Regions from separate parts of the Homo sapiens genome. Here all the other regions are linked to region 2. The links are contacts of gene promoters, found by promoter capture Hi-C in blood cells and fetal thymus (Javierre and others, 2016). All regions are on one chromosome and are shown on one strand. The core of a region is centred on a gene start or on the middle of the fragment in contact, and the rest is flanking DNA. Distances in the headings are between cores, read along the strand shown. Region 1 holds the start of KIF22 (kinesin family member 22). Region 2 holds the start of NFATC2IP (nuclear factor of activated T cells 2 interacting protein). Region 3 holds the start of CDIPT (CDP-diacylglycerol--inositol 3-phosphatidyltransferase). Region 4 overlaps KCTD13-DT (KCTD13 divergent transcript).

Region 1 (5,273 bases), core at 1,039-3,538, 840 kb before region 2:
TCTCTTACCTCCCACATCAGTTCATCATTAACATCTGTCAAGTCTATCTCTTTAAATCTCTCTTGAACAAGTCCACTTCTCTCCACTCCCACTGCACTACCTCTGCCCAAGGTCATGGTCTTTACAGCCTTCCTTGCTGGTGGTAGCAAGGTGTCTCCCTGCCCTCTAGTCATTCCCTCTGTTTCCTTCCTTGCAGTGTAAGTTACCAGTCATGATGAATTTCCTTCACTTCCTACAAAACTCCAAGTTCTCTTGCACCTTTGGATTTTTGTCCACGTTAATCTCTCTCCCTAGAATATCTGCATTGCTCCCCACCCCACCCTGGAGTGACTAAGGTAAACACATTTTAACTCCTCTTAAAAAACAAAACCAAAAACCCTTTCCTGGTAGACACTAAGGCTTTATCAGGTGCAACCACAGCTCATGTTAGCCCCTCCATAAGCATTTGTCACACCCCACTATTGCGTGTTTGTCACTTTCTCCACCTGACTGCCAACTGTGAGAACAAGTTTTATCCTGCTCACCTTTCTAACCCCAACACCTGGCGCAGAGTAGGCCCTCAAGAAGTATTTGCTGAAAAAAATTAAGATTTAGTGAATAAACTACTAATCACTGGCTTGTTCATTTCCATCATGAAAATGGCTCACGGCCATTCCTGCCCCAGGGCTCACAGTCCAGGGTAGGAGGGAAGAGGGGAGGGCCACATGTAAACAATTATTTACTGCACAAGAGTCTAGCCCTTTCATGATAAAAGCAACCTTGAGCTTGGACCAGGCTAGCAATTATTAATTTTCCCTTCTTTCACAATTCCTAAATTTCATTCACTCTTCTCCCTTTTATTGATGAGGAAATTGAGCTAAGAGAGCATCTTACATCATAAATAAGAAAACACTTGCTGTTCTTGTCTTCTTAGTCAAGGCCTGGCAAACTCCTATCCAACCTTTGAAACCCATCTCAAGTATCATTCACTCCCTTAATGAAGTCCTCCCAGAATACTCAAGGGCTTACTTCAGATTCCACACCCTCAGTTTATACACATCTCTCATTGTGTTTCGTATTACATCTACGTATGTGACACTCTATTGAAACAGACTGTAAATTCCTCGAGGAAGGGACATTATTCATTCAGGCATTTTCATATCTACCATGCACCGGACACAGTGCATCTTCGAAGGGTAAGGGGAGACTGTGCTCAGCCAGCAGGGATAACATGTACTTGGGCATAATGGTTAAGAGCAGAGGTTCTACACTCAGACTCCTTGAGAGCGAATTCAAGCCCCAATATTTACTAGTTGTGTTAACTCTGAACAAACTAACCTCAGTTTCCTGTGTAAAACAAAGACAGTAATAGTAACAACCTGATAGCATTGTGTGGACAATAAATGGTTCACCACCATAAAATGCCTACAACTGTGCCTGGCACATAGCAAGAGCTCTACATGTGTTAGGCATTCTCCTAAATGTCTGTTTCCCCACGAGGCTAACGAGGGCTCCAGTGAATTACTATGGCGCTCACCATCATCACTAACGAGGATTAAGTCTCCGGGTTAGAGAGGCACATGTAAACAAATACTCACATACAAGATTTTGGGTGTCCTAACAGCCTTTCCAACCCTAAAATAGCATTCACTTCCATGCTAGAGTGAAAGGAAATTTTAGTCTTTTATTTCGTTTTCCTGTAATCGCAGAGCATCTTACGCTGCCAACTCAAACCCAGCAGCAGCCGGGTCTGTTCCTCAGCCCGTCCTCTTGCATCTCTCAGGGATGTCTCTGCACCCAAACACCATGTCCCACACAGAACCCTTCCCAATACACGCCTCCGGCTCCCTTCTTCTCGTCCTCGTGGCTAGAGCGTCCGCCACTCTTCTCTTGCTTATTCAGGTGATCTCCAGGGATGAGGCCATGACCCCCGTTTCACAGACGAAGAAACCGAAGCTCACAAAGAAAAAGTGCGCGGGGTTCAAGCCAAGAGCCTGGACCGGAGACCCGAGTCTACTGACCCAAGGGGAGAGCAGGAAACAGGGAGAAGGCAGGAGCCAGGCGGGGCGACCGGCTCGCGACCCCACACTCTCACCGTCCCCCTCTCCCCGCCCCTGCGCCATGGCCGCCTCTCCGCGACAACCCGCAGAGCCTGGACCACACTCCGACACATAACTCCCACTAAACTCCAGACGTCGGTACCCGCCTTGCCCAGGCCGGGCTCAAGTACCTGAGATCGCCGCCGCTGAAGCTGCCGCCATCTCGCGTCGCCTCTGCTGCGTCGAGCCGCCCGCGGCCATTCCACTCCCTCCTTGGGCCCGCCTCTCCCATTCGAATTCCCCGGTGCCCCGCCCCCTCTCCCAGGTTCCACCAATCAAGACTACGCGCCGCCGGAAGCTGCTGCGTGTGGGTCGCCACTATCCCGCCTTCCAGCGCTCGCCTCCGGGTCCCCAAGAAAAGGTTCCCCTGGTCAGGACGCATGCGCGCGCGTGGGCCGCGCAGCCGTTGATGTCTGGAAGCGCGCTGCGATACAAACCCCTACGCAGGGATGTTGGCGACGGTGGCCGCTGGGGGAGCTGCTCAGCGCCGCCCGGCACTGGGCTCCCTTTCCCTTTACTTTCTGCAGTTTCTTGCCTCCGTGGGTGGTTGGCGCGTCTGCGGAGCCAGGGTCGTTGTGTGGATCGTGGGACTGCAGCCCCAGCCAAAGGGCTATCACGTCTGGTCGGTTCTGTAGATCTGGGCCCCAGGGGCTGGACTCTGGGCAGTCACGTTGCAGTCGCTGCCTGCTGGGCCCAAGGCCACTGTAGGTCCCCTCGCGTCCGTGTCAGCCCAGGAGAGCAGCTTGGATGTTCCTGTCTTTATAACTTGGCACTCAGCACGTCGGCGAAGCGTGGAAAACGCTTAGTCTGTGATTCAGTCCCACTCACCCACGGTTCCGGTTCCCAGTCCTTAAGAGTACAGCAGTCCGTTGAGTAGCTCTCTGTCCTTTCTGAAGGGTTGGCTAGGGACGGTCATTCCACTTTTGAGCACCAGGTAGGTAGGGCCCAGGTTTAGACATTATGTTCCACCCTGTTGAACAACAAAACAAAACACGGGCCGGGCGCGGTGGCTCAGTCCTGTAATCCCAGCACTTTGGGAGGCTGAGGCGGGAGGCTCACCTGAGGTGAGGAGCTCGAGACCAGCCTGGCCAACATGGCGAAACCCCGTCTCTACTAAAAACACAAAAATTAGCCGGGGATGGTGGCACGCCTGTAGTCCTAGCTACTCGGGAGGCTGAGGCAGGAGAATCGCTTGAACCCGGGAGGTGTAGGTTGCAATGAGCCGAGATGGTGCCACCGCACTCCAGCCACGGCGCCAGAGTGAGACTCCGTCTCAAAACAAAAAACACAAATCTTAGATCAGTGTTTCTGAAACGTTTTGCCTTGGGATCCCACTACAGTTTTTAAAAATGAGGCCTCCAAAGATGTTTTGTGTATATGAGGGTTTTTGTTTTTTTGTTTTTGAGACGGGGTTTCACTTCCATCTCCCAGGCTAGAGTGCAGTGGCTCAATCTCGGTTCACTCCAACCTCTGCCTCTTGGGTTCAAGTGATTCTCCTGCCTCAGCCTCCCGAGTAGCTGGGATTACAGGTGTGCACCACCACGCTCAGCTAATTTTTGTATTTTTATGGAGACAGGGTTTCACCATGTTGGCCAGGCTGGTCTCAAACTCCTGACCTCAAGTGATCCACCCGCCTTGGCCTCCCAAAGTGCTGGGATTACAGGTGTGAACCACCAGGCCTGGCCGTATATACTGTGTGTGAAGTGAAACTAAATTAAAGTTGACATTAATGAATTTAAAAATTACAGTAAAAAACCCATAGACATAAAAAGGACATCTAAGTAGTGGTTGCCAGGGGATGGTGAGGGGCTGAGGAGCTGGCACTACAGCAATAGATATAACGAGTTTCTTTTGGGGGTGATGGAAATATTAAATATTTTGGAATGAAGTAGTGATGATGGCTGCGTAACGTAATAAACATACTAAAAACCAGAGAGGTGTGCACTTTTTTTTTTTGAGACATAGTCTCTCTCTGTTGCTCAGGCTGGAGTGCAGTGGCGCAATCTCAGCTCACCGTAACCTCCGCCTCCTGGGTTCAAGCAATTCTCCTGCCTCAGCCTCCCGAGTAGCTGGGATTACAGGCATGCACCACCGTGCATGGCTGATTTTGTGTTTTTAGTAGAGACGGGGTTTCTCCATGTTGGTCAGGCTGGTCTTGAACTCATGACCTCAGGTGATCCATCCGCCTCGGCCTCCCAAAGTGCTGGGATTACAGACGTGAGCTACCAAGCCCTGCCTAGACCTCCATCTCTTTTTTTTTTTGAGACGGAGTCTCGCTCTGTGGCCCAGGCCGGAGTGCAGTGGCGCCATCTCGGCTCACTGCAAGCTCCACCTCCCGGGTTCACGCCACTCTTCTGCCTCAGCCTCCCGAGTAGCTGGGACTACAGGCACCTGCCACCACGCCCGGCTAATTTTTTGTATTTTTAGTAGAGACGGGGTTTCACCGTGTTAGCCAGGATGGTCTTGATATCCTGACCTCGTGATCCACCCGCCTCGGCCTCCCAAAGTGCTGGGATTACAGGCGTGAGCCACTGTGCCTGGCCTACCTCCATCTCTTAAAAAATAAAATTAGCCAGGCATGGTGGCACACACCTATATTCCCAGCTACTTGGGAGGCTGAGGTGGGAGGATTGCTTAAGCCCAGGAGTTTGAGGCTGCAGTGAGCCGTGATGGTGCCACTGCACTCTGGCTTCAGTGACAGAGGGAGACCTTGTCTCAAAGACACACAAAAAAACTAGATTCTCATATCTGCTTCTGCATTCATGCTGTTGTGATGTCACATATAATATAGTATTTTGAATACTCCACTATATACTTGAGAAACAATGCAAGAGAAGTCAATTGGTATCTTAGTTTTATTATGAAAATAGTTTTGAACTTGTAGACCCACTGAAAGTGTCTCAGGGACTCCCAGAAGTCTCTGGACCATACTTTGAGAACATCTGACATTGGCAATTGGCAGTTTGGTCTTCCTTGCCTGTCAGAAAAGGCTGTTCAGTTTTCACATTTGTTGTCAACTCCAGATATTTGGTAAGAAACCTGCCAGAAATAGTGAAAAGAGCATAGATCAAGGAGATAGGGCTTCTATGTTTGAATAAACCATTTAGGTACAGGGCCTTGGTGCCAGGCTGCCCAGACCAGAGATTTAGCCTCTTTGTGCCTCCATTTCCTCAGATATTAAAAGGGAATAATGGT
Region 2 (5,192 bases), core at 2,004-4,503:
ATTTTGCCTCTGCGGGGACATATAGCAATGTTTAGAGACAATATTGGTTATCAAAATGTGGAGGGCGAGGGGGCTGAGGTATAATACTTCCCAGGGATGGAAGTCAGGATGCCGCTAAACTTTCTACAATGCACAGGACAGTTTCCAACACCAAAGAATTTTCCAGTCCAAAAAATGCCAGTAATGCTGAAGTCATGAAATCCTGTCCTAACTAACTATGGCAGCTGCAAGAGGCCTATGATTCTGCATTTCGTTTTTCTTTTTTTTTTTTTGAGACCAGGTCCTACTGTGTCACCCAGGTTGGAGTGCAGTGGCATGATCATGGCTCACTGCAGCCTCGACTTCCTGGGCTCAGGTGTTTCTCCCACCTCAGCCTCCTGAGTAGCTAGGACTACAAGTACACATCACCATGCCTGGTTAATTTTTTATTTTTCTGTAGAAACAGGGTCTCATCATGTTGCGCAGGCTGGTCTCGAACTCCTGGGCTCAAGCAATCCTCCCATCTCAGCCTCCCAAAGTGCTGGGATTACAGCACTTTGAGCCATTGTGCCCAGCCGATCCTGCATTTCTAGCAAGCTTCCAACGGATGCCATATATGGCTGGGCCCACGTTTTGAGTATCAGGGATAGAGGTACCTTTTACGTAGCACTTCTGTGTCCTAGGTACTGTCCTAAAGCATATATCTAGCCAAGAGGCAGCTCTCTCTATATTCCCTTTCGTTAATTCTCACCAAAATCAGCACCAAAATGGGGTCTACTATTATCCCCACTTTGATAATGAGGAAATTGAAGCACTGAGAAATTAAGAAACTTGCCCAGGCTGGGCGTGGTGGCTCACGCCTGTAATCCCAGCACTTTGGGTGACCAAGGCAGACAGATCACCTAAGGTCAGGAGTTCGAGATCAGCCTGGCCAACATGATGAAACCCCATCTCTACTAAAAATACAAAAAAGCCAGACATGGTGGCGGGCGCCTGTAATCCCTGCTACTCGGGAGGCTGAGGCAGGAGAATGGCTTCAACCTGGGAGATGGAGGTTGCAGTGAGCTAAGATTGCGCCACTACACTCCACCCTGGGTGACAGAGTGAGACTCTGTCTCAAAACAAGAAAAAAGAAACTCGCCTAAGATCACACAGCTATTAAGAGATAGAGCTGAGGCCGGGCACAGTGGCTCACGCCTGTAATCCCAGCAATTTGGGAAGCTAAGATGGGCGGATCACCTGAGGTCAGGAGTTCAAGACCAGCCAGGCCAACATGGTGAAACCCCATCTCTATTAAAAATACAAAAAATTAGCCAGGCGTGGTGGGAATTAGTCAGCTACTGGGAAGGCTGAGGCAGGAGAATCGCTTGAACCCAGGAGGTGGAGGTTGCAGCGAGCCGAGATCGTGCCATTGCACTCCAGCTTGGGCAACAAAAGCGAAACTCTGTCTAAAAAAAAAAAAAAAAAAGAGAGAACTGAGATTCAAACCCAGGCCAGATGGCTCCTGTTTGCTTTTAATCACCCCACTGTACTCCCTCATGGTACAAGAGTCTTGGTCCAAGGTCTCCATTTGCCCACTGGATTATTTCCTTATTAGACTAGATTCCTATTCCCCGCCCTTGAGTTGTTTGCAAAAAATGCATCAGTGGGGGAGGACAAAGACAGGGCATCCCTGATAAGATTCAGAGAACACCCTGCTGGCTCCAGTGTTCCCAAAGAACTTGCTGCAGATGTAACAAGATGTCACAGATTCTCAACACCTTACCGCCTCCTGCCCCGCCCAGGACTACAGAATCAGCATCTCTTCAGGTGGCACCAGAAATGTATACATTAATACATTCTATGCTTGTTAACAATCCAGCTCCTGTGGCTGGGATGCAGGAGTCCCCTCTCCCACGCTCTTCCCTTGAGCCTCAGGAGACAACTGACTGCAGGAATATAAACCCCAGGAATTCTCTTAAGAGAAGCCAGCGGCTGCGTGCCTCTCCCTGGAGGCCCTCCCTTACCTTCCTCATCCCCTGGAGGGTAGAGTTTCAGGAGGGATAGATCATCTGGGATAAGGCGAAGGCTGCTTTTAACCTGCAAAGACAAAGAAGGGAGAGGGGTCAGGCCCAAGTCCTTCCCCTACCGAAAGAAAAAATTGGGGGTAATTCTTCCCTGACACCCAGCTCCCAAATCCTCCCTAAGATCGTGGACACCTTGGCCCTCTCCTGGCAACCTAGAAGTCCAGCTTCCCCAGGATTCAGAATGGAAGTACCCTTCACCCTTTCCTCCATCTGCCTAAGACACTCTGAAATGTATGCTTCCTTGCCCTTTTTAACTAGGTTACTAGCCGCCCCTCTACCCCTGACTCTTAGGGACTCTCAGCCCATTGCTCACACGACCATCGGGGGACCCCAGCCTCTGGAGCCGCCCAGTCCTCTCTGAACCCGCATGGACCCCAACCCCCAATACTGCAGCTCCCTGGCTTCATTTGCCATGGACCCCAACCTCAAAATCCAACGGCCCCAGGTCCTCCCAGTCCCTCTCCAAAATCTCAGGAATCCCAGCTCTTCAGCCTCCCTGTGCCCCCAAGACTCTAGCTCCTAGGAATCCTAAACTTCCAACGCATCCCACCCTCCTTCACCACCCCAGTCTGCAGAAAGTCCCGGAGCCCTGCCTCTCCCTGCCTCCAACACCCTAACGCCCGAGGACCAGCCCCAGAACGCCAGCCTCAACACCCCTATAGCCCTACCCTCCCCGAACGCCGGCCCCTCCCTGGAGGCCAAGCCCTTGGCCCTTCCGCCGGTCCCCTCCCCGGGACCGGGCGCACCTTCCCCGAGTACACCGGAACCAGCGGCGCCTCCCCCGGATCCAGCACCAGCCGCCGCCGCCGCCTGACCGGCTCCCGCGGGGGTCCTGCGGGCCGCCTGTCCTCCCCTTCGCTGTCACTGTTGCTGTTATCCCGGGACGCGACCGGCCCCGGGGGCTCCGGGGGCTCCACCTCAACCTCGTCCGCGGCACCGCGAGCGGTGGCGACCTCCAGAATTTCCTCATCGCTGTCGGTGACCAAGTCCACAGACACTACGTCCAGCGTGCCCCGGGATGGAGACCGCTGGGCCCGAGGACGCCGGCCCCGACCGCCCCAGCCGCCCCGACCCCCTCGGCCGGCACCGCTACCTCCGGACCAGCGGCCCCGCTTCCCCACAGGCTCCGCCATGGCACACTTTCCTCCACAACACACGCCCGCCTCCTCTCGCCTCGCCCCGCCCCCTTCAGCGACTTTCGCCTTGCATTGGACAAACAGCCTGCTCGTCAGCAACTCTTCGCGCCCCACGCGCGGGATCCGCCTTCCCGCCTTTTCATTGGTCTCTGTACCCGCTCATCATGCGCCCACCTCTGAAACCAAGGCGCCAAAGATTCCAATCACCTCGGCACAATCACCGTAGCTTTCGATTCAGTCGGCCTCACCCATTGGCTGGGCCACCTCTCCACAGACGAGCCTCTCCCGGACCCGCCCAACCAAGACAACCGTCTTCCGGCTTGGTTAGTCGCAGGGCATCCTGGGAAATGTAGTCCTCGAGCGGTAAGGTTTCCGGGAGAAGGAAGGCGGGCCTGGAATTCCCTGTGGAAACCGCGGATTTAACCAGGCGCGGTGCCTCACGCCCGTAATCCTGGCACTTTGAAAGGCTGAGGCGGGCAGATTGGTTGAGCTCAGGAGTTTGAGACCAGCCTGGCCAATGTGGCGAAACCGCGTCTCTACTAAGAATGCAAAAATTACCCGGGCGTGGTGGCACCCCTCTGTGGTCCCAACTACTCAGGAGGCTGAGGTGGGAGTTTCGCTGGAGCCCGGGAGGCGGAGATCGCACCACTGCACCCCAGCCTGGGTGACAGGGCGAGACCCTGTCTCAAAAATGCTTTAAAGAAATAATAAGGCTGGCCGCGCGCGGTGGCTCACGCCTGTAATCCCAGCACTTTGGGAGGCCGAGGCAGGCGAATCACGAGGTCAGAAGTTCAAGACCAGCCTGGCCAACACGGTGAAACCCCGTCTCTACTAAAAATACAAAAATTAGGCGGGCGTGGTGGCGTGCGCCTGTAATCCCAGCTACTCAGGAGGCTGAGGCAGGAGAATTGCTTGAGCCCGGGAGGCAGAGGTTACAGTGAGCCAGATCCTGCCGCTGCACTCCAGCCTGGCCGACAGAGCGAGACTCTCTCTCAAAAAAAGAAAGAAAGATAGAAATAATAAGGCTGGGCGTGGTGGCTCACGCCTATAATCCAGCACTTTGGGAGGCCGAGGTGGGCAGATCACCTGAGGTCAGGAGTTCGAGACCAGCCTGACCAACATGGTAAAACCCTGTCTCTACTAAAATACAAAAATTAGACAGGCGTAGTGGCAGGCGCCTATAATCTCAGCTACTCGGGAGGCTGAGGCAGGAGAATCGCTGGAACCCAGGAGGCAGAGGTTGCACTGAGCCAAGATTGTACCACTGCACTCCAGCCTGGGCAACAGAGTGAGACTCCATCTCAAAAAAAAATCTTATGTATTTATTTATTTTTAAATTTTATTTTATTCATTTATTTAATTTTATTTATTTATTTATTTTGAGATGGAGTTTCGCTCTTATTGCCCAGGCTGGAGTGCAATGGCTCGATCTCGGTTCACTGCAACCTCTGCCTCCCAGATTCAAGCAATTCTCGTGCCTCAGTCTCCAAGTAGCTGGGATTGATTACAGGCGTGCACTACCATGCCCAGCTAATTTTGTATTTTTAGTGGAGATGGGGTCTCACCATGTTGGTCAGGCTGGTCTTGAACTCCTGACCTCAGGTGATCCACCCCCCTCCGCCCCCGCCTTGGCCTCCCAAAGTGCTGGGATTACAGGCGTGAGCCACTGCGCCCGACTATTTATTTTATTTTTTTCTTTTTCTTGATTCGGAGTTTTGCTCTGTTGCCCAGGCTGGAGTGCAATGGTGCGATCTCAGCTCATTGCAACCTCCACCTTCAGGGTTCAAAGGATTCTCTTGCCTCAGCTTCCCGAGTAGCTGGGATTACTGTTGCCTGCCACCTTGCCCAGCTAATTTTTGTATTTTTAGTAGAGACGGGGTTTCACCATGTTGCCCAGGCCGGTCTTGAACTCCTGACCTCAAGTGATCCACCTGGCTCGGCCTCCCAAAGTGCGGGGATTACAGGTGTGAGCCACAGCACCCAGCCTGGCATATGTAAATCTTCATGATGG
Region 3 (5,178 bases), core at 1,069-3,568, 910 kb before region 2:
TCCTGAAGGACTGGGCCTTGAGATTTAGCTAGAAAGCTCTGGACCTGGGGGAGGGGGGTTTGGTGGGGGTTTAGAGTCAGGGCCTAGTGCTGAGAGCTATGAGTCGGGGCTTCAGGACTCAGGGTTGAGGCTAGAGTCTCAGGGCCCGTGGCTCAGACCTGGCACGGGGTGCCTCTGCCTGGGAGGCTTTCACTTCATTACATTCCCACCTCTAGGGTTCCCTGCAGTGCTCACCGGACCTCCTCTCAAGGAGGGTGCAGCTTGAGATGGCCAGCTGCTCTTCTTCTCCCCCTCATTCCCCATCGGAGTGGACGCCATCCCCCTGGGAACAGTCGAAGCCTGAGTTGACCTGAGAAACCAGCCCGCTTTCCCCCAGAACCCAGTCCACCACCATTCCCCGGGCCCAGGTTTAAACAAGGCCTTTAGAGGAAACATCCCGCTGCCTCATTCCCTCTCACAAGAAAAAATAATAATAATAATAAAGGTTGCTTTATATCTTCGGGAGTGAGAGGGAACTCCCGCAACCCCCTACCCCTCACCCCTTCGCCTGGTGGGCCTCTCCTTCCTTCTTCCCTCCCAAGCACCTTCCCAAGCCGAGGCAGCCGACTTGACGCCCCAGACCTGGCAGATGGGTGGAAACCTTGGGCTACTCGGCAAAAGGAGAGACGTGGAGGCCTAAGGACCTCTGGTATAGGTCGTGGGGGATGGAGAATGGGAGATGGGGAGGAAGGCTGGAAAAGGGGGAGCCGGCTCCGTGTCGCTACCGGACGCTATAAAACCCTTGGAGTCTGCAGAGGTTCCGCAGCCTCGTTGCTAGGAGATCAGGGGTTCTAGAACTAAAGACAGAGGAATTTCCTAGCGCGCCCCGTTTGCTCCTCCAGCCTCCCCTCCGTACCCCTCCAGGTGCCTCCTTGAGGGCAGTGACCCCAAGCGCCAGACGCTTGAGAAGCTTGGGAGGATGACGTAGGGTGGAGCCTGCGACCTAATCCTCCCATCACAAGGGGCACGCGAAAAGCAACCCATCTGCAGGGCGCTCTGGAGCCTCTCTAGCCGCCTAGAGCCTGCGAGAGCAAAGGCGGCTGGAGACTTAGGGGGCGGGGAGTAAAGTGAGGACTGCACCAAATCTCCTGGCCTCTTGGGGACGCAAAGACTCAGGAGGAGGAATTTTATCGCCTTATCTTTGCCTCCAGGAAGTCATACCCTCCACAAAAGGAAAGCAGAGATTTTTATTCGGTCTTCTCTTTTACCCTTTCCTTTTCCGTTTCTAACTTTGCTTGACGTTAATGGTTCCTTCCTCCCTCTCCTCCTCTGCGCTTTGGTACGAGCCAAGGGAGAGGGGCGGAGGGAGGAAAAGGGAAAGGAAGCCGACAGGCCTTAAAGGGGCCGCAACTATTTTTTTAAGCCACTTTTTCCTCTCTCCAATTTTGCAACGACGGGCGCGGAGGAGGAGGTTCCCGGAAGCCACGCGCAGCTGGAGCAGCGGCGACCGCAGCTGGAGGCCCGGAGCGCCTGCGGGGCTGGCAGAGGCGAGGGAGGTTGCGGGTAGGAAGGGCGGACTGCGCGCGCCCCCTGCGTCCCGCGCACCTCGGGGCCGGTCCATGCTCCCGACGGCTGCGGGCTTCAGCATCTGGGGCCAGGTTGGGGCGGCGGGGTCCAGGGCGCAGGTGGTGCGGCCGATGCGCCGGGCCGGAGGCTGAGGCCGCGCTGCGGGGCTGGGACAGCACTGGCATCTCCAGAGCAGGCCCGGGGCAGCAAGGGAGGCGCCGCGATGCCAGACGAAAATATCTTCCTGTTCGTGCCCAACCTCATCGGTGAGTGCTGCCCACGGCCCCGGGCCGAACGAGAGGGCGAGGGGCCTTGGCGGGCTCCCTGATCCTGCCCTGTCTCCCCGCGTCCCGTTCCAAGGTTATGCCCGGATTGTCTTCGCCATCATTTCTTTCTACTTCATGCCCTGCTGCCCCCTCACGGCCTCCTCCTTCTACCTGCTCAGCGGCCTGCTGGACGCTTTCGATGGACACGCTGCTCGCGCTCTTAATCAAGGTGACAGACACCCCTCTCAGCCAGCCTTGGGGTTCAACAATCCCCTCCTCCCTTCCCCTGCCTCCTCGGGACCTCAGAGTCAGAGGGCTGTCATTCCCATCTCTGGAAAAAGCAGAACAGGATGGCCTGGGGCTTTTTGTTTTGTGTTTTGTTTTTTTGTTTTTGAGACAGGGTCTCGCTCTGTCACTTAGGCTGGAGTGCAGTGGCGCGATCATGGCTCACTGCAGCCCCCATCTTCTGGGCTCAAGTAATCCTCCCACCTCAGCCTCCTGACTAGCTGGGACTACAGGAGCGTGCCACCACACCCGGCTAATTTTTAAATTTTTGTAGAGACTGGGTCTTGCAGTGTCGCCCAGATTGGTCCCCAGCTCCTAGCCTCAAGCGATCCTCCTGCCTTGCTCCCAAAGTGCCGCGCCCAGCAAGAATGGACTGATTTTGTAGCAAAAGGAATTTAAGCTAGCTCTTGAGAACTCACTGCTTGTGAGAGGTGTGGATTAGCAAGACATGACATGGCGGTGGCGCTGCTGGAGGTCTCTCTGAATACAAGTCCATTCAGGCCAGGGGCGGTGGCTCACGCCTGTAATCCCAGCACTTTGGGAGGCCGAGGTGGGTGGATCACGAGTTCAGGAGTTCGAGACCAGCCTGGCCAACATGGTGAAACCCTGTCTCTACTAAAAATACAAAAATTAGCGGGCTTGGTGACGCGTGCCTGTAATCCCAGCTACTCGGGAGGCTAAGGCAGGAGAATTGCTTGAACCCGGGAGGCGGAGGTTGCAGTGAGCCAAGATTGCGCCATTGCACTCCAGCCTGGGCGACAGAGCAAGACTCTGTCTCGGAAAAAAAAAAACAAAAAACAAAAAACAGTGTATTCAACAGGTGTTTACTGGAGGCCTACTGTGTGCCCTGCATAAGCAGTTGGGGTTCCAGAAGGCATGCTTAGAGGGAGGATGGAGAGGGAAGGGTGATGGCTTCTGGAGGGTTGACTAATTTTTTAATCTGTTCTCCAGACCCAACTGTAAGGCTTCCCCTGAGGCATCAAGTCTCTATCTAGCCCTGGAGTCTTGGTTCTGGGGTTGATGAGTTGCAGACATAGCTTTCCTCTCCTCCTACCCTGTTCCCTCCACTCTCATGCCTTTCTCAGTTCATGCCATGGTGACCTTTGCCCACTGACCTCACACACAGCCTGTTTTCTAGCCTGCGTTCCTCCCCAGGCAGGCGGACACTTCCAGTCTTCGTTTACACCCTGCGTCAGAGTGATAAACCAAATATGGGCACCTGTCCTGCATCCACTGTGCCATAACAGCCCTTGCCCACCTAATCTTCCAGGAACCCGGTTTGGGGCCATGCTGGACATGCTGACGGACCGCTGCTCCACCATGTGCCTGTTGGTCAACCTGGCCCTGCTGTACCCTGGAGCCACGCTGTTCTTCCAAATCAGCATGAGTTTGGATGTGGCCAGTCACTGGCTGCACCTCCACAGGTCTGCTGCGATTCTGGGGGCCTGGGCCACTTGGAGACATTACAGTGGGGTGGGCTGAGCCTAGACGGAAGGGTGTCTGGGATGGCACTAGGCATCCTGGAAGGGCTCCTTTTTAGCTCTGCTTTGTAGAAAGACCCCAGGCAAACCTGCCTCTCTTTAAAGCTTCAGTCATGTTTACAGTTGCATTAAGCAATTCTTAGGACTCTTCTGGCTGGGTATTCTAGGATTCCATATAGGTGACAGCTTATAGGAAGGGGCATGGGAGCTTTCAAATGTGGCATTTGAATCCTGACTCTGCCCCCAAATAGGTAACTGTGGCTTTCGGCAGGATACTGGTCCTTAGCCGTGCCCAGTTTTCCATCTGTACAATAGGTGTTAACATGAGGATTGGATGCATGGTAGTGGTCATGAAACCTTGTGGGTTCCCCTGTTTTCTCCCCAAGTTCTGTGGTCCGAGGCAGTGAGAGTCACAAGATGATCGACTTGTCCGGGAATCCGGTGCTTCGGATCTACTACACCTCGAGGGTAAGCATTTCCTGCACACCCCACCCCTCAGGCTCTTGGCTGTGGGAAGCCCTGGGCTGAATCCTGGTCCTAGCCTAGGAGAAGGCGAGGGCGCAGAGCAGGGCCTGCCCAGTCACTCCAGGAGGAGGGCCCGTAAGCTGAGGCGTGGAGGAGGAGGATTGGTGGGGAAGGCCTGTGTGAATTACTCCAGGGAACAAGTGGGAATGAGGCCTGCAAAGAGAAGGGACTGAAAGCGGGAAGGGAGATAAGCCAGAGAGGTCTGCAGGGCTGGAGTGTGGACTTGATTCCAGGAACACAGGCAGCCTCTGGAAGGATTTTTAAAAAGATAATGGCTGGGCATGGTGGCTCATGCCTGTAATCCCAGCGCTTTGGGAGGCTGAGGTGGGAGGATTGCTTGAGGCCAGGAGTTTGAGACCAGCCTGGGCAACAAAGTGAGACTCTGTTTCCACACACACACAAAATCTTGAATTAGCTTAGCCAGGCACAGTGGTACACGCCTGTAGTCTCTACTTAGGAGGCTAAGGTGGAAGGATTGCGTGAGACCAAGGGTTTATTTATTTATTTATTTATTTTTTTGAGACAGAGTCCTGCTCTGTCACCCAGGCTGGAGTTCAGTGGCGGGTTATCGGCTCACTGCAACCTCTGCCTGCTGGGTTCAAGCGATTCTTGTGCCTCAGCCTCCTGAGTGGCTGGGACTACCGGCACGTGCCACCACACTCGGCTAATTTTTGTATTGTTAGTAGAGAGGGGTTTCGCCACGTTGGCCAGGCTGGTCCCAAACTCCTGACCTCAGGTGATCCGCCTGTCTCAGCCTCCCAAAGTGCTGGGACTCCAGGCATGAGCCACACGCCTGGCTGAGACCAGGAGTTTTGAGGCTGCAGTGCTATGATCATACTACTGCATTCCAACCTGGATGAGAGAGCGAGACCCTGTCTGTAAAAAAGAAAAAAAAATAAGAGAAGTAATATGCCGAGATTGTGCCTTCATTAGTGCTGGGGGGGCAGGGGGTGGCACACGCCTGCCTCTTGCTAACGTGGCCTGTTTGCTGTGTGTGCAGCCTGCTCTGTTCACCTTGTGTGCTGGGAATGAGCTCTTCTACTGCCTCCTCTACCTGTTCCATTTCTCTGAGGGAC
Region 4 (5,446 bases), core at 1,754-4,253, 980 kb before region 2:
TGGTGGCAGGCACCTGTAATCCCCGCTACTTGGGAGGCTGAGGCACAAGAATCGCTTGAACCTGGGAGGTGGAGGTTGCAGTGAACCAAGATGGTCCCATGCGGTTCCCATGATAGTGAATAAGTCTCATGAGCTCTGATAGTTTTATAAAGGGCAGTTCCCCTGCACACACTCTCTTGCCTGCCACCATGTAAGACGTGTCTTTGCTCCTCCTTCGCCTTCTGTCATGATGGTGAGGCCTCCCCAGACATGTGGAACTGTGAATCTATTAAACCTCTTTTTCTTTATAAATTACCGAGTCTCAAGTATCTCTTCATAGCAATATGAAAATGGACTAATACACCCATAATAATTTAAAATTAAAAAATTAGCAGGCCGGGCACAGTGGCTCACGCCTGTAATCCCAGCACTTTGGGAGGCTGAGGAGGGCGGATCACAAGGTCAGGAGATTGAGACCATCCTGGCTAACATGAGGAAATCCTGTTTCTACTAAAAAAAATACAAAAAAATTAGCCGGGCGTTGTGGCGGGCGCCTGTAGTCCCAGCTTACTCAGGAGGCTGAGGCAGGAGAATGGCGTGAACCCGGGAGGCAGAGCTTGCAGTGAGCCAAGATCGTGCCACCGCACTCCTGCCTGGGTGACAGAGCAAGACTCCATCTCAACATCAACAAAATAATAATAAAAAAAAAAAGTAAAAGAATTTTTAAAGTGCAGCAGAAAAAATAATTTTTTAAATGCTATGTGATGCTAATCATCTCCACATGAGCAGTTTATCTCTCCAGTAAATTATGTATTACAGTAAAAAGTGATCTCTTGTGGTTCTCCTGTGTTCTTTATTGTGTTTAGTGCAATACTGTAAGCCTTGTATAACACCACGGGACCCACGTGAAGTGCCACTAGTCATGCTGGAAGTGCTTCTAAGAAGCAGGGGAAAGTCATGACATTACAAAAAAAAGTTCAACTGCTTGATATGTAATGTGGATTGGGGTCTGCAGCTGTGGCTGCCCACCATTTCAGACAGATGATTCATCTTATAAACATACGACATAAACTTATGGTATACATAATACAGTACAGTACCATAAATATATTTTCTCTTCCTATGATTTTCCTAATAACATTTTCTTTTCTCTACTTTACTTTGTTGTAAGACTACAGTATATAATATATAAAACATGCAGAGTATGTGTTAATTGACTGTTTCTGTTATTGGTAAGGCTTCTGGTTCACAGTAGGCTATTGGTAGTTAAGTTTGGGGGGAGTCAAAAGTTATATGAGGCCAAGGCCAGGGGCAGTGGCTCACACCTGTAATCCCAGTACTTTGAAAGGCAGAGGTGGGCAGATCACTTGTGGTCAGAGTTCAAGACCAGCCTGGCCAACATGGTGAAACCCCATCTCTATTAAAAATACTAAAATTAGCTGGGTGTGGTGGCGGACACCTGTAATCCCAGCTATTTGGGAGGCTGGAGCAAGAGAAGCACTTGAACCCAGGAGGCGGAGGTTGCAGTGAGCTGAGATCACACCACTGCACTCCAGCCTGGGTGACAGATCGAGGCTCTGTCAAAAAAAAAAAAAAAAAAAGAAAAAGGCTGAGGTGGGAGGATTGCTTGAGGCCAGGAGTACAAGACCAGCCCAGGCAACATATTAAGACCTTATCTCTACAAAAGAAAAATAGTTATATATGGATTTTCAACTGTGTTGGGGTTGGCACCCCTAACCCCCACAATGTTCAAGGGTCAACTGCAGGAAGACTTGAAAATTGAAATTACTCCTTGGCTTATGGGCTGAAGAACAGATACTGCATTAGTAGGCAGGAAAACAGCATTAATTTCCTTGTACATCTCCATTAGAGCTCTTGGATGACCAGAGGAACTGTCATAATATTTTGAAAGGAATCTCTTTTTCTGAGCACTAGGTCTCAACAGTGGGCTTAAAATATTCCATGAACCATGCTATAAACAGACATGTGGCCATTCAGGCTTTTTTGTTCCATTAATAGGGGACAGGCAGAATGGATTTAGCATAATTCCTCAGGGCCCTAGGACTTTCAAAATGGTTAATGAGCATTGGCTTCAACTTAAAGTCACCAGACCAGCTGCATTAGTCCCTGACAAGAGAGTCAACCTGTCCTTCAAAGCTTTGACTTCTCCTCTCTAGCTATAAAATTCCTAGATGGCATCTTCTTCCAATAGAAGGCTGTTCTGTCTACATTGGAAATCTGTTGTTTAGTAAACCATCTTCATCAATTATCTTACTAGATCTTCTGGATAACTTGCTGCAGCTTCTACACAGCACTTGCTGCTTCATCTTGCACTTTTATGTTCTGCAGATGGCTCATTTCCTTAAATCTCATGAACTAGCCTCTGCTACCTTCAAATTTTTCTCCTGCAGCTTCCTAATCCCTCTCAGTCTTCATAGTAATGAAGAGATTTAGAGCTGTTGTGGCTGTTTTGATCTATTCAGGCCACTAAAACTTTCTCCATATCAGCAATCAGGCTGTTCCAGTTTTTTTTTTTCTTTTGAGACAGAGTCTCGCTCTGTTGCCCAGGCTGGAGTGCAGTGATGCGATCTTGGCTCACTGTAACCTCTGCCTCCTGGATTCAAGTGATTCTCCTGCCTCAGCCTCCTGAGCAAGACTCCACTGCAAAAACAAACAAACAAACAAACAAAAAACACTTGCTCAACACAGGGTTGCCACACATCTTCAATTTGTAAGAAATGCAATATCTGTGAAGAGCAATAAAGTGAGGTGTAATAAAACAAGGAGTGCCTGTGTATAATTTTCATTTAAACAATTTATGAAAACCATCACAATTTACTTAACTCATAAGATCAACATAAATACATTGAGAAGGCTTAAATCATGAGGGCCAGGAGCAGTGAGTGGTTCATGTCTGTAATCACAACACTTTGGGAGGCCAAGGTGGGAGAACTGCTTGAGCCCAGGAGCTCAAGATCAGCCTGGGTAACATGTGAGACCCTGTCTATACAACAACAACAAAAAATTGGCTGGGCATGGTGGTGTGTGCCTGGGGTCCCAGCTACTTGGGAGGCTGAGAGAGGAGGATCTCTTGAGCCCAGAAGGTTGAGGCTGCAGTGAACCATGATCATGCCACTGCAGTCCAGATGGGGTGACAGAGTGGGACCCTGTCTCAGAGAGAGAGAGAGAGAGAAAGAGAATTAACCCTGTTCTTGTACAAACCAAAATATCACGCTGGCATCATTTTTACATGAGTGAATAAAAAATTTAACTGAATCATGCCAAAAGCTCTTCTTTTGTCTTGGAACTAAGACCTTTTTTTTTTTTTTGAAATGGAGTTTTTGCTCTTGTTGCCCAGGCTGCAGTGCAGTGGCAAAATCTCGGCTCACAGCAACCTCCACCTCCTGGGTTCAAGCGATTCTCCTGCCTCAGCCTCCTGAGTAGCCGGGATTACAGGCACCCGCCACCATGCCTGGCTAATTTTTTTGTATTTTTTTTAGTAGAGACGGGGTTTCCCCGTGTTAGCCAGGATGGTCTCGATCTCCTGACCTCGTGATCCGCCCTCCTCGGCCTCCCAAAGTGCTGGGACTACAGGCGTGATAGATCTTTTCTTCTAACTGGAAGAGCAAAGGCTATTACATAAATATACTTTTTAGTGCCTATATGTACAGACACTATATATATATACGTATATACATGTATTTTTTTTTGTATAGACAGGGTCTCACATGTTACCCAAGCTGATCTTGATATACATGTATATACGTATATATATATGATTTTCTGTTTCTTTTAGCATTTTAGGCATTTCTATTTCTTTTAGGACTGGATTTACCTAGACTGTGCACATACAACTGAAAAATTTTTTGATTAGTTAATCTTTAAAGCTTTCCAAGAGAGGTGAGGAAAAAGAGAATGAAATGGACAGCAGGAAAGTGTGAGAAGACAATGAGATACCATCTCACACCAGTTAGAATGGCGATCATTAAAAAGTCAGGAAACAACAGGTGCTGGAGAGGATGTGGAGAAATAGGAACACTTTTACACTGTTGGTGGGACTGTAAACTACTTCAACCATTGTGGAAGCTGGTGTGGCGATTCCTCAGTGATCTAGAATTAGAAATACCATTTGACCCGGCCATTCCATTACTGGGTATATACCCAAAGGATTATAAATCATGCTGCTATAAAGACACATGCACACATATGTTTATTGTGGCACCATTCACAATAGCAAAGACTTGGAACCAAGCCAAATGTCCAACAATGATAGACTGGATTAAGAAAATGTGGCACATATACACCATGGAATACTATGCAGCCATAAAAATTGATGAATTCATGTCCTTCGTAGAGACATGGATGAAGCTGGAAACCATCATTCTCAGCAAACTATGGCAAGGACAAAAAACCAAACACCACATGTTCTCACTCATAGGTGGGAATTGAACAATGAGAACACATGGACACAGAAAGAGGAACATTACACACCGGGGACTGTTGTGGGGTGGGGGGAGGGGGGAGGGATAGCATTAGGAGATATACCTAATGCTAAATGACGAGTTAATGGGTGCAGCACACCAACATGGCACATGTATACATATGTAACAAACCTGCACGTTGTGCAAATGTACCCTAAAACTTAAAGTATAATAATTAAAAAATTAAAAATAAAACTAAATTCCTAGAAATAAAAGCATTTTGAACATAAAAAAAAAAAAAAAGAAAATGTGAGAAGAAGCTACTTCAGACAAACATGAAATTATCACTCCAAAAGGCTAAGGTTATATTCCCTCTGCAAGGAGAAGGAAGACAGTTTAAACACAGGAAAATAGATTTTGACATATAAACACTGTCTTAGTCCATTCTGTGTTGCAATAGAATACCTGAGGGGCTGGGTACTTTATTTTTAAAAATTTATTTCTTACAGTTCTGGAGGGTGGGAATTCCAAAGTCAAGCAGCCACATCTGGTGAGGGCCTTCTTTTTTTTTTAGATGGAGTTTTGCTCTTGTTGCCCAGGCTGGAGTACAATGGCATGATCTCAGTTCACTGTAGCCTCCACTTCATGGACTCAAACAATTCTCCTGCTTCAGCCTCCAAAGTAGCTGGGATTACAGGTGCGCACCACCAAGCCTGGCTGATTTTTGTATATTTAGTAGAGACGGGGTTTCACCATGTTGGCCAGGCTGGTCTCAAACTCCTGACCTCAAGTGATTCGCCCGCCTCAGCCTCCCAAAGTGCTGGGATTACAGGTGTCAGCCACTGTGCCTGGCCGACAGCATTTATTAATATGCAAAATAGGTAAATGAAATATTGCCTATGTTAAACAAAATAATCTTTGTTTTTAACAAACAAGGCAAACAATCTCACAAAGGTTTCTTCCCTTTGTGTTCTGAGGCACCTCCCAAATGAACAATCTTGTTATTATCAAAAGTTCCACCAAATGGCTACGGCAATTACAAACTG

Evidence for each region. Contacts are between HindIII fragments. The CHiCAGO score rates a contact against its expected background, and 5 or more counts as called.
Region 1: a contact is called between the fragment with the promoter of KIF22 here and the fragment with the promoter of NFATC2IP in region 2, in 1 of 17 cell types (fetal thymus). The highest score is 10.5, in fetal thymus.
Region 3: a contact is called between a fragment that was not itself captured here and the fragment with the promoter of NFATC2IP in region 2, in 1 of 17 cell types (total B cells). The highest score is 6.5, in total B cells.
Region 4: a fragment that was not itself captured here is called in contact with the fragment with the promoter of NFATC2IP in region 2 in 1 of 17 cell types (fetal thymus); the score reaches 5.2 in fetal thymus.

What each region holds. Positions count from the first base shown.
Region 1 is chr16:29,787,766-29,793,038 of GRCh38, reverse strand. It overlaps KIF22 (kinesin family member 22), which reads right to left and starts at 2,288. Exons shown (of 14, transcript NM_007317.3): 1 at 2,210-2,288. The coding sequence starts at 2,279. It overlaps LOC105371167 (a long non-coding RNA gene), which reads right to left. Exons shown (of 2, transcript XR_950983.1): 2 at 4,916-5,117. RefSeq lists an enhancer at 2,478-2,877. The HindIII fragment of the contact is 11,757 bases long and covers 1-5,273 here.
Region 2 is chr16:28,948,998-28,954,189 of GRCh38, reverse strand. NFATC2IP (nuclear factor of activated T cells 2 interacting protein) reads right to left here and starts at 3,253. Exons shown (of 8, transcript NM_032815.4): 1 at 2,792-3,253; 2 at 1,986-2,058. The coding sequence starts at 3,178. It overlaps NFATC2IP-AS1 (NFATC2IP antisense RNA 1), which reads left to right. Exons shown (of 2, transcript NR_186408.1): 2 at 1-1,288. RefSeq lists silencers at 2,798-2,917, 3,058-3,157 and enhancers at 2,877-3,377, 3,397-3,931. The HindIII fragment of the contact is 4,735 bases long and covers 579-5,192 here.
Region 3 is chr16:29,859,448-29,864,625 of GRCh38, reverse strand. CDIPT (CDP-diacylglycerol--inositol 3-phosphatidyltransferase) reads left to right here and starts at 1,400. Exons shown (of 6, transcript NM_006319.5): 1 at 1,400-1,811; 2 at 1,906-2,040; 3 at 3,367-3,520; 4 at 3,964-4,045; 5 at 5,103-5,178. The coding sequence starts at 1,769. It also overlaps the pseudogene CDIPTOSP. RefSeq lists enhancers at 742-1,279, 3,435-3,973 and silencers at 1,328-1,387, 1,398-1,707. The HindIII fragment of the contact is 2,733 bases long and covers 952-3,684 here.
Region 4 is chr16:29,930,825-29,936,270 of GRCh38, reverse strand. It overlaps KCTD13-DT (KCTD13 divergent transcript), which reads right to left. Exons shown (of 3, transcript XR_001752362.2): 3 at 5,191-5,446. Among named protein-coding and RNA genes, the nearest start is that of KCTD13, 7.3 kb to the right of the region's middle. The HindIII fragment of the contact is 1,730 bases long and covers 2,139-3,868 here.